2 separate regions of the Homo sapiens genome follow, and region 1 is linked to region 2. The links are contacts of gene promoters, found by promoter capture Hi-C in human tissues and cell types (Jung and others, 2019). All regions are on one chromosome and are shown on one strand. The core of a region is centred on a gene start or on the middle of the fragment in contact, and the rest is flanking DNA. Distances in the headings are between cores, read along the strand shown. Region 1 overlaps P2RX7 (purinergic receptor P2X 7). Region 2 holds the start of OASL (2'-5'-oligoadenylate synthetase like).

Region 1 (7,276 bases), core at 2,295-4,794, 140 kb before region 2:
CAGGTTCAAGAGATTCTCCTGCCTCAGCCTCCCAAGTAGCTGGGATTACAGGCGCCCACCGCCACACCCACCTAATTTTTGTATTCTTAGTAGAGACAGGGTCTCACCATGTTGGCCAGGCTGGTCTCGAACTCCTGACCTCAGGTGATCCACCCGCCTCAGCCTCCCAAAGTGCTGGGATTACAGGCGTGAGCCACCACGCCCGGCCTTCAGTCAAAGAATTGTGATGAGGATCGGAATGCATTGGGTAGCTCAGCAGTTAGATTTGATAGATTCCAAGGCTGGTCTGGTGAGTTACCTGATTTGGTCTATAGCCCTTCTAGAACTGTCCAGTGGAAACCTAAGTTCCTGAGGCTCCCAGGGTTGGTCCGGGCTCCCTGAGAACATTAGAACCAGGGAAGGTATGGGCTGAGTCTGTGTGCCCATTCATCAGGCTTGCCCTCTGTTCCAGTTACCTGTTGCTGTGGAACAAATAAGCCCCAAACTTAGGGACTTAAGATAGCAATGTGGTTTTCTGGATTTATGGGGCAGTTCTCACTTGGGATGTATCATGCGGTATCAGTCATATGTTAGTGGAGTCCAGAATCACCTGAAGGCTTCTTCTCTCTCATGTTTGGTGACTGGGCTTGGATGGCTTGAAAGCTGGGGCTGGTCAGGCACTGTCCACGTGACTGCTTGGGCTTCCTCACAGCAGGGCAGTCTCAGGATAGGCAGACATTTTTTTTTTCTTTTTTTTTTTTTTGAGATGGAGTCTCGCTCTGTCACCCAGCCTGGAGTGCAGTGGCACGATCTCAGCTCAATGCAACCTCCACCTCCCAGGTTCAAGTGTTTCTCCTGTCTCAGCCTCTTGATAGCTAGGACTACAGGTGCCCGCACCATGCCCAGCTAATTTTTGTATTTTTATTAGAGATACGGTTTCACCATGTTGGCGAGTCTGGTCTTGGACTCCTGACTTTAAGTGATCCGCCCGCCTTGGTCTCCCAAAGTGCTGGGATTACAGGTGTGAGCCACCACACCTGGCCAGGATAGGCAGACTTTTAAATGGCGTCTGGCTTCCCCGATAGCAAGAGTTCCAAGGGACAGCAAGTAGAAGCTGTCAGCCTCTTAAGATCAGGATCTGAAACTGACACAATGTCACTTCCACTTTTGGATAAAGCAATCAGAGCCACCCATATTCAAGGGGAGGAGATAAAACCCTTAGGTCTTGGGGGACTTGAGTGTCAAAGAATTTGTGGCCACCTTTAGTTCTCCACATTCTCCAGCCAGGATGAAAAGGGTTTGTTTTTAGTTGGACATTATCCTAGTCTGACCTCATAATGAAATGTTTTGCATTCATGTAGATCTTTACACATTAAAAGACAGTTCATGTGCACTGTCTCAATTTGTCCTCACAATATCTCTGAGATAGTAGTTGGGCAACAAGGAGACAGAGGCACAGAGGTGAGAGGCCTAGGGTCACACAACTTCCTGGGGACAGAGTTGAGACTTACATCTCAATCTCTTTTCTCTGAGTCCATGTAGAGGGATTCTGGTTTGTTTAACCAGGTCACTTTGCTCTCAGACACAGAGAGCAACAGAAGATGAAAGCATATTTCCCTTTGGCTGAAAATGTGGCCACAGAGCTTTGCAGGTGAAGTTCAAGTTGCTGGTAAATGTCATGTTAACATGGCTACTGCAGCCCCTGCTATTGGTAAGGACTCTTTTTTTTTTTTGGGGGACAGTTTGCTGTGCCTCCCAGGCTGGAGAGCAGTGGCACAATCTGGGCTCACTACAACCTCTGCCTCCCGGGTTCAAGTGATTCTTGTGCCTCAGCCTCCCGAGTAGCTGGGATTGCAGGTGCATGCCACCATGTCTGGCTGATTTTTGTATTTTTAGTACAGACAGGATTTCGCCTTGTTAGCCAGGCGGGTCTCCAACTCCCGACCTCAGGTGATCTGCCTGCCTCGGCCTCCCAAAGCGCTGGGATTACAGACGTGAGCCACGGTGCCTGGCTTCAGTAAGGACTCTTGAAGCCACTGTACTGCCCTTCACTCTTCGGAAACTCTTTCCGGATCCTCCAGCGGCAGCAGCTGGGCAGGATGGCAAAGTCAGCCATGTCCTGGGAGCCGAAGCGCCAGGTGGCGTAGCACCTGTAGGCACAGTGCCGCAGCCGGCTGTTGGTGGAATCCACATCCAGCGCCAGCAAGGGCTCCTGGTAGAGCAGGAGGAACTGCAGGACGTGTCTGGACAGGACCAGCTTCCTGAACAGCTCTGAGGTGGTGATGCAGGCCCCCGGCTTTTTCCGGCAGCACAGCTCCTCCAGGCACCTGTGGCTCTCAGGGAGTTGAGATGGGAGGCAGCTTCCACACTGGCACCAGACGGGGCTATCCCTGGATCTAGGAGTCGCCTCCTTTCTAAGCAGCTGTATCTCCTCTGGTTGTCCAGGAATCGGGGGTGTGTCATGGAGGGCCAGGGGCAGCCTGGACAAATCTGTGAAGTCCATCGCAGGTCTCTGAAAAAGCAAGTTTCCAAACCTATTAGCCATGACAAGCCCTCAGGTTCTAGGTTCTTTAATTTTATTAACTTATAAAGTTACGTTTAATATTACATGATTTATAGTAGCCGTCATTTATTAGGTGTAGATATCAGGACCATGCATGTGTTCTGTAAGCATTGCCTCATTCAGGCCTTTGAAGACGCTTGTGAGATAATGTATCCTTGTCTTTATTTTACAGATTTTTTTTTTTTTTTTGAGAGAGGGTCTCACTCTGTCGCACAGGCTGGAGCACAGTGGTGTGATCTTGGCTCACTGCAACTTTCACCTCCCAGGTTCAGACAATTTTCATGCCTTAACCTCCTAAGTAGCTGGTATTACAGGTGCATGCCACCATGCCCAGCTAATTCTTTCGTATTTCTAGTAGAAACAGGATTTCAACATGTTGGCCAGGCTGGTTTGGAACTCCTGACCTCAGGTGATCCACCTGCCTCAGCCTCTCAAAGTGCTGGGATTACAGGCATGAGCCACTGCACCTGGCCTATTTTACAGATTTTGGAAAATGAAATTCAGAAAAGCCAGGCCTCTGTTGAGATGTCACCTCTTGTCCTGACCACCCTATCTAGCAGCTTTTCTCCCACATGATTCCCTTATCACACTGTGGTATTCCACATTCTTCATAGGACTTAGCACTATTGGAAATGGTTTTTGTGTGTGTGTGTGTGTGTGTGTATTTGTTGTTTTTTTTTTTTGAGATGGAGTCTTGCTCTGTCTCCCAGGCTGGAGTGCAGTGGCATGATCTTGGCTTACTGCAACCTCCGCCTCCTGGGTTCAAGCGATTCTTCTGCCTCAGCCTCCTGAGTAGCTGGGACTACAGGCGCGCACCACCACACCCGGCTAATTTTTATATTTTTAGTAGAGACAGAGTTTCACCATATTGGCCAGGCTGGTGTTGAACTCCTGACCTCGAGTGATCCACCCACCTCAGCCTCCCAAAGTACTGAGATTACAAGCGTGAGCCACTGCACCCGGCCATGACTTAGTTTTTAACAAAAATATTTAAAAAGTAAAAATAAAAATAAAAAATGTTAAAAATAGAAAAAAGTATATAGAATAAGGATATAGAGAAAGAATTTTTTTTTTTTTGAGATGGAGTCTTGCTCTGTCGCCCAGGCTGGAGTGCAGTGGTGTGATCTTGGCTCACTGCAAGCTCTGCCTCCTGGGTTCACGCCATTCTCCTGCCTCAGCCTCCCGAGTAGCTGGGACTACAGGCGCCTGCCACCATGCCTGGCTATTTTTTTGTATTTTTAGTAGAGATGGGGTTTCACCATGTTGGCCAGGATGGTCTCAATCTCCTGATCTTGTGATCCGCCTGCCTCGGCCTCCCAAAGTGATGGGATTACAGGCATGAGCCACCACTCCCGGTGAGAAAGAAAATATTTTTATACCACTGTACAGAGTTTAAAAAATTTAAAAATTTATAAAGTAAAACAGTCACAGTAAGCTAAGATTAATTTATTATTGAAGAAAGATAAATATTTTGAAGTAAATTTAGTGTAGCCTAAGTGTACAGTGTTTATGAAGTCTACTGTAGTGCACGGTAACAACCTAGGCTTTCACATTCACTCACTACTCACTGACTCACCCAGAGCAACTTTCAGTCCTACAAGCTCCATTCATGGTAAGTGCCCTATGCAGATGTACCATTTTTAAGCTTTTATATCATATTTTCACTGTACCTTTTCTATATTTAGATATACAAATCTTACCATTCTGTTACAGTTGCTTACCGTATTCAGTACAGTAACATGCTGTACAGGTTTGCAGCCTAGGAGCAATAGACTACACCATATAACCTAAGTATAATAGGCTATTCTATTTAGGTTTGTGTAAATAGAGTCCATGATATTCAGACAACCACAGAATCAGCTACTGATGCGTTTTTCAGAACATATCCCCATCATTAAGTGATGCATGACTGTAGTTCACTTCATACACAAATCCAACAAGAACATTACAAGAATGGAAACACTTTGGTCAGTCTTTCTCAAGAAGAGATGTAAAAATCCTAAATATTAGTGAATGGAATTCAGCAATAAATACAAAGAATAGTACAACACATTCAAATTGAGTTTACTTCAGGAATGCAAGTTTGGCTTAATATTTGAAAATCAATCAGTACAATTCAACTAACAGAAAAAAAGAAGAAAACTCACTGATATTTCAAAAGGAGCAGAAAAGACTTTTTTTTTTTTTTTTTTAGATGGAGCTTGTTCTGTTGCCCAGGCTAGAGTGCAGAGGTGTGATCTCAGCTAACCGCAGCCTCTGCCTCCCAGGTTCAAGCAATTCTCCCACCTCAGCGTCCTGAGTAGCTGGGATTACAGGTGTGCACCACCACGCCTGGCTAATTTTTGTATTTTTAATAGAGACAGGGTTTCGCCATGTTGGCCAGGCTGTTCCTGAACTCCTGACCTCAGGTGATCCGCCCACCTTGGCCTCTCAAAGTGGTGCAATCTTGGCTCACTGCAAGCTCTGCCTCCCAGGTTCATGCCATTCTCCTGCCTCAGCCTCCTGAGTGGCTGGGACTACAGTCGCCCGCCACCATGCCTGGCTATTTTTTTGTATTTTTAGTAGAGATGGGGTTTCTCCATGTTGGTCAGGCTGGTCTCAAACTCCTGACCTCAGGTGATCTGCCTGCCTCAGCCTCCCAAAGTGCTGAGATTACAGGCATGAGCCACCATGCCTGGCCATTTCTGTTGTTTTAAGCCACTTAGTTTGTGGTAATTCAGCCCTAGGAAATTGAAGATGCCCAGCAACCAGAACTGCTGGGGAGAGTGCAAATGTGAACAACCATTTTTCAGCACCGTTTGTTAGTATCTCCTAAAACCGAACATATGTCTGCCTTATGACTCAGCAATTCCACTCTTAGGTAACTGTCCAGTAGAGTGCCATATGTTGAGCATAGCAGCGTTATTGGCATTAGCCCCAAACTGGACACTACCCAAATGTCCATCAACAGTAGGATGGCTGAATAAGTTGGATATTTATAAAACAGAATTATACAATGAGAATGAACTATACATGGCATCATGAACAACTCTCACAAAAATAATGTTGAGTAAAGGAAGCCAGACACTCAACCGCGTATATACCGCTTACATACTACGTGATTCAGTTTTTAGAAAATTCTAGCCAAAGTAAAATTAATCTTTGGAAACAGGATAATGACTACTTTTAAGAGAGGGCAGTTGGTGGGCTTGGTACAGCTGAGGTGGGAGGACTGCTTGAGACCAGCCTGGACAACATAGTGAGACCTCGTTTGTAATTTAAGAATATACATTTTTTTCTTTTTTTTTTTTGAGATGGAGTCTTGCTCTGTCACCCAGGCTGGAGTGCAATGGCACAATCTCGGCTCACTGCAACCTCCACCTCCTGGGTTCAAGCAGTTCTCCTGCCTCAGCCTTCTGAGTAGCTGGGATTACATGTGTGCCACCACACCACCCGGCTAATTTTTGTATTTTTAGTAGAGACGAGGTTTCACCATGTTGGCTAGGTTGGTCTCGAACTCCTGACCTCAAGTGATCCACCCACCTTGGCCTCCCAAAGTGCTGGGATTGCAGGTGTGAGCCACCGTGCCCAGCCAAATTTTAAAAATTAAAAAAGGAGAAAGAGAGGGTAGTGATTGGAGGGGGGCATAAAAGGGACTCCTGCTAGTAATTTTCAATTGTTTAATCTGAGTGCCGGTTATATGAGTATGTTTACTTTGTTAAAATCCATCAGTTTTGATTTGTACAAGTTTCTAGATGTGTTTATATTTAACAGTAAATTTTCTTAAAAAAAAAAAAAAGACAAAATGATTTAACTTACTGGGACTTCTTGGCCCTTGACATCTTGCAGACTTCTCCCTAGTAGCTGCTGGTTCACCATCCTAATGTGGGATTCATCCACAAAGGACACATACTTTAATGTCTAGGAAAAGATGGTTTGAAAGTTTACCCATTTTTGTACAGAATTATCAAGAATTGCCTATCTAAAGGCAACTGTAATTCCTATTTGCCAAATGATAGACTATTGAACAAGCTGGCTCAAAACTCTCATTAACCAAGAATTAATGATTTCTGAGTCTAAAGATAAATCAGAAATGGAACCCCATGCTTTTTTTTTTTTTTTTTTTTGAGTTGGAGTTCACTCTTGTTGCCAGGCTGGAGTGCAATGGCATGATCTTGGCTCACTGCAACCTCCGCCTCCCAGGTTCAAATGATTCTCCTGCCTCAGCCTCCTGAGTAGCTGGGATTACAGGCATGCACCATCATGCCCAGCTAATTTTGTATTTTTAGTAGAGACGGGGTTTCTCCATGTTGGTCAGGCTGGTCTTGAACTCCTGACCTCAGTTGATCCGCCCGCCTTGGCCTACCAAAGTGCTGGGATTACAGGAGTGAGCCACCACGCCAGGCGGAACCCCATGCATCTTAACTTGTAAATTCAACACAGCCACAGCTTACTGCTTAATGTTTTTACATTGGACCCCCCAGTTGCTGCATAAAATTTCTTTGTTGTATTCTGTCAATTTCAGTAACTCTAGATTCAGTATCTCCAGAAATTTGTACTATTGCAACTTAAATTATTTACATGTTTGTTAAATTTCATCTCATCTTGGGCCATGAAGTGGTGATTAGTTTTAGCTGCAAAGATGAACTTTTATTTCAAATTGTGAATGCATATACAATGGACAGTGAATTATGCATCAGCTGCTGGAACAGGACAATCATGTTCTTGGATGAGGGAAAGACAAAGAAATCGTCT
Region 2 (7,071 bases), core at 1,379-3,878:
TCGCTGGAGTTCAGTGGTGCAATCTTGGCTCACTGCAAGCTTTGCCTCCTGGGTTCACGCCATTCTCCTGCCTCAGCGTCCCGAATAGCTGGGACTACAGGTGCCTGCCACCACGCCCGGCTAATTTTTTGTACTTTTAGTAGAGATGGGGTTTCACCGTATTAACCAGGATGGTCTCGATCTCCTGACCTTGTGATCCACCCGTCTTGGCCTCCCAAACTCTTCACCTTCTTATGTCTTTGCTCAGATGTCTCCTTTTCAGGGAGGCCTTCCCTAATCACCTTATGTAAGACTGAAACCTAAATACATGCCCCCAACACACACACACACACACACACACACACACACACACACACACACAACCTCTTAATCCCTTCTCTTGCTTTGTTTTTCTGCTTAGCACTTATCACCGTCTTCTTTACTATAATTTTACCTATTTATCCTATTTGTTGTTTGTCTCCACTACCAGAAAGAAAACTATCTGCAGGTAGGGATTTTTCACTACTGTTTGTTCACTGTTGTATCCACAGCACCTGCCTGGCACAGAGTAGGTGCCCAGTAAGTATCTGTTGAATGAGTGAACGAATGAGTGAATAGCACTCCAAGATTCAATCCTGCCCACCTGTCCAGGTACATTTCTAACCTCTCCCCTGCTCACCCTTTCATCCCAAGGCACACAGCACACTTGAGTCCCTGGCATATCCTAGCATTATTTATACTTCTCAGCCTCTATGCTGTACCCTCATCCTCCTGGCTGGAGTGCCAGTCTTTTTTATTTTTTATTTGGAGACAGAGTCTCATGCTGTCACCCAGGCTGGAGTGCAGTGGCACCATGATAGTTCACTGCAGCCTGAAACTCCTAGACTCAAGTGGTCCTCCCACCTCAGCCTCCCAAGTAGCTGGGGCTACAGGTGGACACCACCACACCTAGCTATTTTTTAAAAAACTTTTTGTTTTTAAAACAAAAACTGGAGTTTTAAACTCCAGGCCACCACTGCCTCTCACCTGCACCACTGTGCAGTGTCCTGACCATCTCCCTACATCTGTTCTTGCCCTTGCAATCATCCTCACCACAGAAGCAGAGAAGTTACAAGTGTGGCAAAGGGCAGACCGGAATTCAAAGCCAATGTGGAGTGGGGAGTTGGATACATGAGTCTGGATTTCAGGGAAGAGGTATGGATTTAAGATACAAATGTGGGAGTCACTGGGTATGGTGGCTCACGCCTGTAATCCCAGCACTTTGGGAGGCCGAGGAGGGCAGATCAGGAGTTCAAGACCAGCCTGGGCAACATGGTGAAACACTGTCCCTACTAAAAATACAAAAAGTTAGCCAGGCGCGGTGGCGGGCTCCTGTAATCCCAGCTCCTTGGGAGGCTGAGGCACAAGAATCGCCTGAACCTGGGAGGCAGAGGTTGCAGTGAGCCGAGATTGTGTCACTGAACTCCAGCCTGGGCGAGACAGTGAGACTCCATCTCAAAAATAAACAAATAAATAAAAATAAAATTAAAATGTGGAAGTTGCCAGAGTAAAAACATTTAAACGCTGGCTGAAATCACCAAGGGAGTAAGTCTAGAACAAGAAGAGAAAAGGACCCAGGACTAAGCCCTGGAGCACTTAATATTATTCAGAGTTTGGGAAGTTGCAGGTGTCCAGCTATGTTGCCCAGGCTGGTCTTGAACTCCTGGCCTCAAGTGATCCTCTCACCTTGGCCTCCCAAAGTGCTGGGACTACAAGCATGAGCCACCATGCCCAGCCCGGATCCCCAGTCTTTAAGATTCCTCTCAAGCAGGTGTCTGCTAACACCAAATGAAACTCATCTGCCGGCTTCATGTTTTCATGCTTTTTTCCTACTTAACTCATCGCACTGGACTTTTGCAGTCTCTTTTTTCTGTGTCTCCTCCACCGTTCTGGGAGTCCCCTTGGAACAGGAACCTCATCTTATTTTGTCTTCTTGGCTCAATGCATGAACTTCTTGGTTCAGTGCGTGAATCATAATACCTGTTAAACCCACTCTATGGGCCGGGCGCGGTGGCTCACGCTGTAATCCTAGCACTGTGGGAGGCCGAGGTGGGCGGATCATTTGAGGTCAGGAGTTTGAGACCAGCCTGACCAAAATGGTGAGACCCCCGTCTCTACTAAAAATACAAAAAAAAAATTAGCCGGGCGTGGTGGCACATGTCTGTAGTCCCAGCTACTAGGGAGGCTGAGGCAGGAGAATCGCTTGAACCCGTGAGGCAGAGGTTGTAGTGAGCTGAGATTGCACCACTGCACTCCAGCCTGGGCAACAGAGCAAGACCCGGCCAAAAAAAAAAAAAAACAAAAAAACAAAAAAACCCACTCTATGAATAGTGAGGGTCAAAGAGGTTAGAGTCTGGCACAGGTAGACTAGAATTCCCAGTCTGTTCTCTTGGGCTCCAGATTCTCACTCCACCACCTGAACACTAGTGAGTCCCTTCCGTTCCCAAGCCTCAATTTCCTTAGACAGATGTAAGCAGTTGAATTGACTAACAACTATCCAACCCCAACCTACTGGGCAAGTTGCCTCCTTTGGGGTCAAACACTATCCAACTTCAGTTTCCCAACGTCATAAAGGAGAACTCTAAAAGTTGAGAATCGAAACTGATGACAGATTGACTAGACGGCCAGCCTGTTAAGGTGGCCCCAGATATTCCAGCCTCAGCCCAGAGTCCTCCTGTGCCCCTACTGCAGCAAGGGTGTCTCCAAGAAGGGGGACCTGGAGTCAGCCCGTCACACCTGGTTTCCTCTCTGCTAGGGTCCCTCCTCCCACAGAGCACTGGAGGGCAGCTGAGGAGGAGCTACCTTAAAAAAGGAGGTGTGTGCCAGGGAGCTGGGTAGGAGCCTGGCTATATATCTGCCCAGCAGCGGTACTCTCGGGACAGAGATGGCACTGATGCAGGAACTGTATAGCACACCAGCCTCCAGGCTGGACTCCTTCGTGGCTCAGTGGCTGCAGCCCCACCGGGAGTGGAAGGAAGAGGTGCTAGACGCTGTGCGGACCGTGGAGGAGTTTCTGAGGCAGGAGCATTTCCAGGGGAAGCGTGGGCTGGACCAGGATGTGCGGGTGCTGAAGGTAGTCAAGGTAAGACTGGGCTCCTCCAGCCCCCACGCAAGACAAAACCCAGTATCAGAGTCCACGTCCCTGGGGATGCTGGGGACCCCTGTCCTCCTTATCCCTAGCCCATGCTGATGACATCTCAGAATACCCCATCCCACCTAGCTGTCTACACCCCACTGCACCACTGCCTTGAGTAGAATGAGTCTAGTAATAATAGCTCACATTTGGGGGCTCACTGGACTAACCTCTTAACATACACTATCTCTAATTCTTGCACTCTGTGAGATAGGTACTATTCTTTGCCCAGTTTACAGATTAGCAAATGGAGGCTCAGAACCAATACAATGCGAGGTCCTTGGTTGGATCCTAGTGTGAATGAACCATCTGTAAAATATAGTTTGGGGACAACTGGCCTAGATATCAGATAGTACATATATCTGATATGGGAAATCATTGTTGATTTTGTTAGGTGTAACAGTAGTTTTGTGGTTATCAGAAGGTTGTCTTTTGTTTGGACACGAACACTGAAGTATTTTAGGGACAAAGTTCCTTGGTGCCTATAATTTACTTTAACGTGGCTTAGATTAAGCACATGTAGCCAGGAATTTAGACTTGTTGAATCAACTAGTTGGGTATATGAGTGTTAGTTGTATCATCTATTTTTCTATGTGTTTTAACTTTTTGATAATAAAATGACTTTTTTTTTTTTTAGAGACAGGGTCTCGCTCTGTCACCCAGGCTGGAGTGCAGTGGCACAATCACCACTCACTGTAGCCTCAATCTCCCTGAGCTCAGGTGATCCTCAGCCTCCTAAATAGCTTGGGATTACAGGCATGCACCACCATGCTCAGCTAATTTTTGTATTTTTTGTAGAGATAGGGTTTCACCAATGTTGCCCATGCTGGTCTCGAACTCCTGGGATCAAGAATATGCCCACCTTGGCCTCCCAAAGTGCTGGGATTACAGGTGTGAGCCACCATGTCTGGCCGGCCAATAAAATGATTTTTGTTTTTGTTTTTTTTTTTTTGAGACAGAGTCTTGCTCTGTCACCAGGCTGGAGTGCAGTGGCACGATCTCAGCTCACTGCAACCTCTGCCTCCCAGGTTCAAGCAATTCCCCTGCCTCAGCCTCCCAAGTAGCTGGGACGACAGCGCCCACCACCACGCCCGGCTAATTTTTTGTATTTTAGTAGAGACAGGGTTTCACCGTGTTGGCTAGGATGGTCTCGATCTCCTGACCTCATGATCTGCCCTCCTCGGCCTCCCAAAGTGCTGGGATTACAGTGAGCCACTGCACTCGGCCTAAAATGATTTTTTAATGGAGGCTCAGAGAGGTGAGGTGACTTGCCCAAGGTCACACAGTGTTGAAGCTGGGATTTGAACTTGACTCAAGGGACCCAAGCCCCCCTCACTGAGATTTTCCCCCAAGCCCTTCCTCCAGCTGTTTCATGCCACCGCCTGTGCTAGCTAAGATCAAAATTCAAGAGGGTCGGAGCTAGAAAGACTTTGGAGAATCAGACAGTCTCACCAATGACTCACTTAAAAAATTAAGTAAACCGAGGCACAGAGAGGGTGAGAGATACCCCAAGGTCACACAGCGAGTTGGTGGCAAAGGCAAGACTAGAATTAGGACCCCTGACTCCCAGCCCAGTGCTCAAGTTCTCTCTCTAGGGGCAACCAACTCACAGAGGGATCTAGAAGCCCTGGGCCCCTATCCGTTCTTTGCACCTATCCCCAGCATATGAAGCCTGAGGCCATACAATTTATAAGTGAGAAACCACAAATTTTGATATTAGACAGACTCTTCGCTTCTTCCTTTACCAGCTGTGTGGTTTTGACCTTCCCACTCTTCTTTCTCAAACCCACATTCTTTTCATCTGTGATTGGGGCATCATCATCATCTCTCCCTCACCAAGCCAGTGGTGCAATGCAGGCTGAATGATTCATGCACGATAAATGCTCAGAAACAGAAGCATCATTATAATTCTTGCCAAGCTTTCTTCTGGGCCTGGGACTCAAGTCTGACTCTGGCAGACCCTCCTAGACCACCCCCTCCCCAACAAACTTGAGAATAAAGTGGAGGGAATAAGGAATGTCTGGTAAGAGGAGGATGCTACAAGAATAAGTTTATTGTGTGTGTGTGTGTTCCACCACGCCTGGCTAATCTTTGCATTTTTAGTAGAGACGGGGTTCCATCATGTTGGCCAGGCTGGTCTCGAACTCCTGACCTCAAGTGATCCACCCACCTCGGCCTCCCCAAATGCTGGGATTACAGGTGTGAACCACCACGCCCGGCCAAGAATGAGTTTTTACGGCAGGAAATGCTATTTACCTAAGCCTCAAATACTTCCTGCACATCATAGCCACTTTTCCTCTTGAAACCACTAAATGGTAGCAATCCCCAGTGAGCCATGACTAATGAGGAATAATATATCTTATTTAGAGTCTAAACCCTCCCGTTCCCCACCCTCTGAAAATCTAGTGAGCGGAGCTGGTCCACATAAGGGAATGCTCGTCTTCAAATGAATTGTGCTTAAATAGGTTTAAAACTGAAGCAAATCAGGAAGCCTGTTCTGGATGTGTTCTTTTCTCTCTGCCTGGATCTTACCAGTGGGAAAGGCAGAAAGGGAAGTCTACGCCAGGCACAGTGGCTCACGCCTGTAATCCCAGCACTTTGGGAGGCCAAGGTGGGAGGATTGCTTGAGCCCAGGAATTCGAGACCAGCCTGGGCAAAATGGTGAGACCCCCGACTCTACAAAAATATATATAAAAAATTAGCTGGGCATGGCGGTGCATGCCTGTAGTTCCAGCTACTCCGGAGGCTGAGGTGGGAGGATTGCTTAAGCCCAGGAGGTCGAGGCTTCAGTGAGTGAAGATCGTGCCATTGCACTCCAGCCTGGGCAACAGAGCAAGACCCTGTCTCAAAAAGAAAGGGAAGTCTAGACTGGCCTTCGGGGGGAATGTGTCCTTCATTCACACACAGGGTGCCATCTCCAACCCTCTCCCAGGGGGTGGAGGTGCTGGGTCTGAATGCCCATGGTCCCTTGGAAGCAGGGCCTGGCTCACAGCCTTGGGTCACGAGGAAGAAAGAGGCGGAAGAACCATCCCCTACTTGAGTTCTGGCTCTTTCTCTGACTCTGCTGCCTTCTGGCTGGGAGACCATGGCAAGCTCCTCACTGCCTCAGTCTTCTCATCTGTACATTGGAGATAATTCTCCTAGTACCCACCTCAATACAGGAAGTGAAGGCGTTTTTTTTTGTTGTTTTGTTTTGTTTAGATGGAGTCTCGCTGTGTCGCCCAGGCTGGAGTGTAGTGGCGAGATCTCAGCTCACCACAACCTCTGCCTCCTGGGTTCAAGCGATTCTCCTGCCTTAGCTTCCCCAGTAGCTCGGATTACAGGTGCACACAACCACACCTGGCTAATTTTTGTATTTTTAGTAGAGATGTGCTTTCACCATGTTGGCCAGGCTGATCTCGAACTCCTGACCTCATGATCCGCCCACCTTGGCCTCCCAAAGTGCTGAGATTACAGGCATGAGCCATCATGCCTGGCTGGGAAGTAAAGATTAAAAGGAATAATATGTATACAGGGCTCTTATGGGTGCCAGACACAGGGCGTGCTCATGTCATCCAGCATCCGTGCTCATGTCACACAGGGCATGTTATATCATCCGGCAACAGCTGGAATCTGATTCTTGTGCAGTGACTCCAACCACCAAGAAAAGTAGCCTTCTGGGGGTCTGATGCCTCCCTAGCAATTCCACCTCCCAACACAGAATGAGAAGGAGAGGAGGCCAGAGAGTTGTGGCGCTTTGCATACCAGAGGCACCAGGGCCTGGAGAGCTCATCTAGAATCTCAAAACATCGAAAAATCCCTTCTCGACCTCCTTCCATTACTAACAGGAAAACTGACCCCCCGGCAGCAGAAGAGATTGTCTAAGTCAGCTGGATAATGAGAAGAAAGAGAAATGTATTGCTGACTTCCTGTGTGCCAGG

Evidence for each region. Contacts are between HindIII fragments. The study calls those that stand out against the background at their distance.
Region 1: a fragment that was not itself captured here is called in contact with the fragment with the promoter of OASL in region 2 in 1 of the 25 tissues and cell types used here (stomach).

The regions. Positions count from the first base shown.
Region 1 is chr12:121,179,520-121,186,795 of GRCh38, reverse strand. It overlaps P2RX7 (purinergic receptor P2X 7), which reads right to left. Exons shown (of 13, transcript NM_002562.6): 12 at 6,341-6,442; 13 at 1-2,491. The coding sequence ends at 1,994. All of the region lies in intron 2 of LOC105370032 (a long non-coding RNA gene), which reads left to right. Among named protein-coding and RNA genes, the nearest start is that of P2RX4, 27 kb to the left of the region's middle. The HindIII fragment of the contact is 7,055 bases long and covers 17-7,071 here.
Region 2 is chr12:121,034,803-121,041,873 of GRCh38, reverse strand. It overlaps OASL (2'-5'-oligoadenylate synthetase like), which reads left to right and starts at 2,628. Exons shown (of 6, transcript NM_003733.4): 1 at 2,628-3,100. The coding sequence starts at 2,903. RefSeq lists enhancers at 2,464-2,883, 2,463-2,962, 2,963-3,464. The HindIII fragment of the contact is 11,669 bases long and covers 2,556-7,071 here.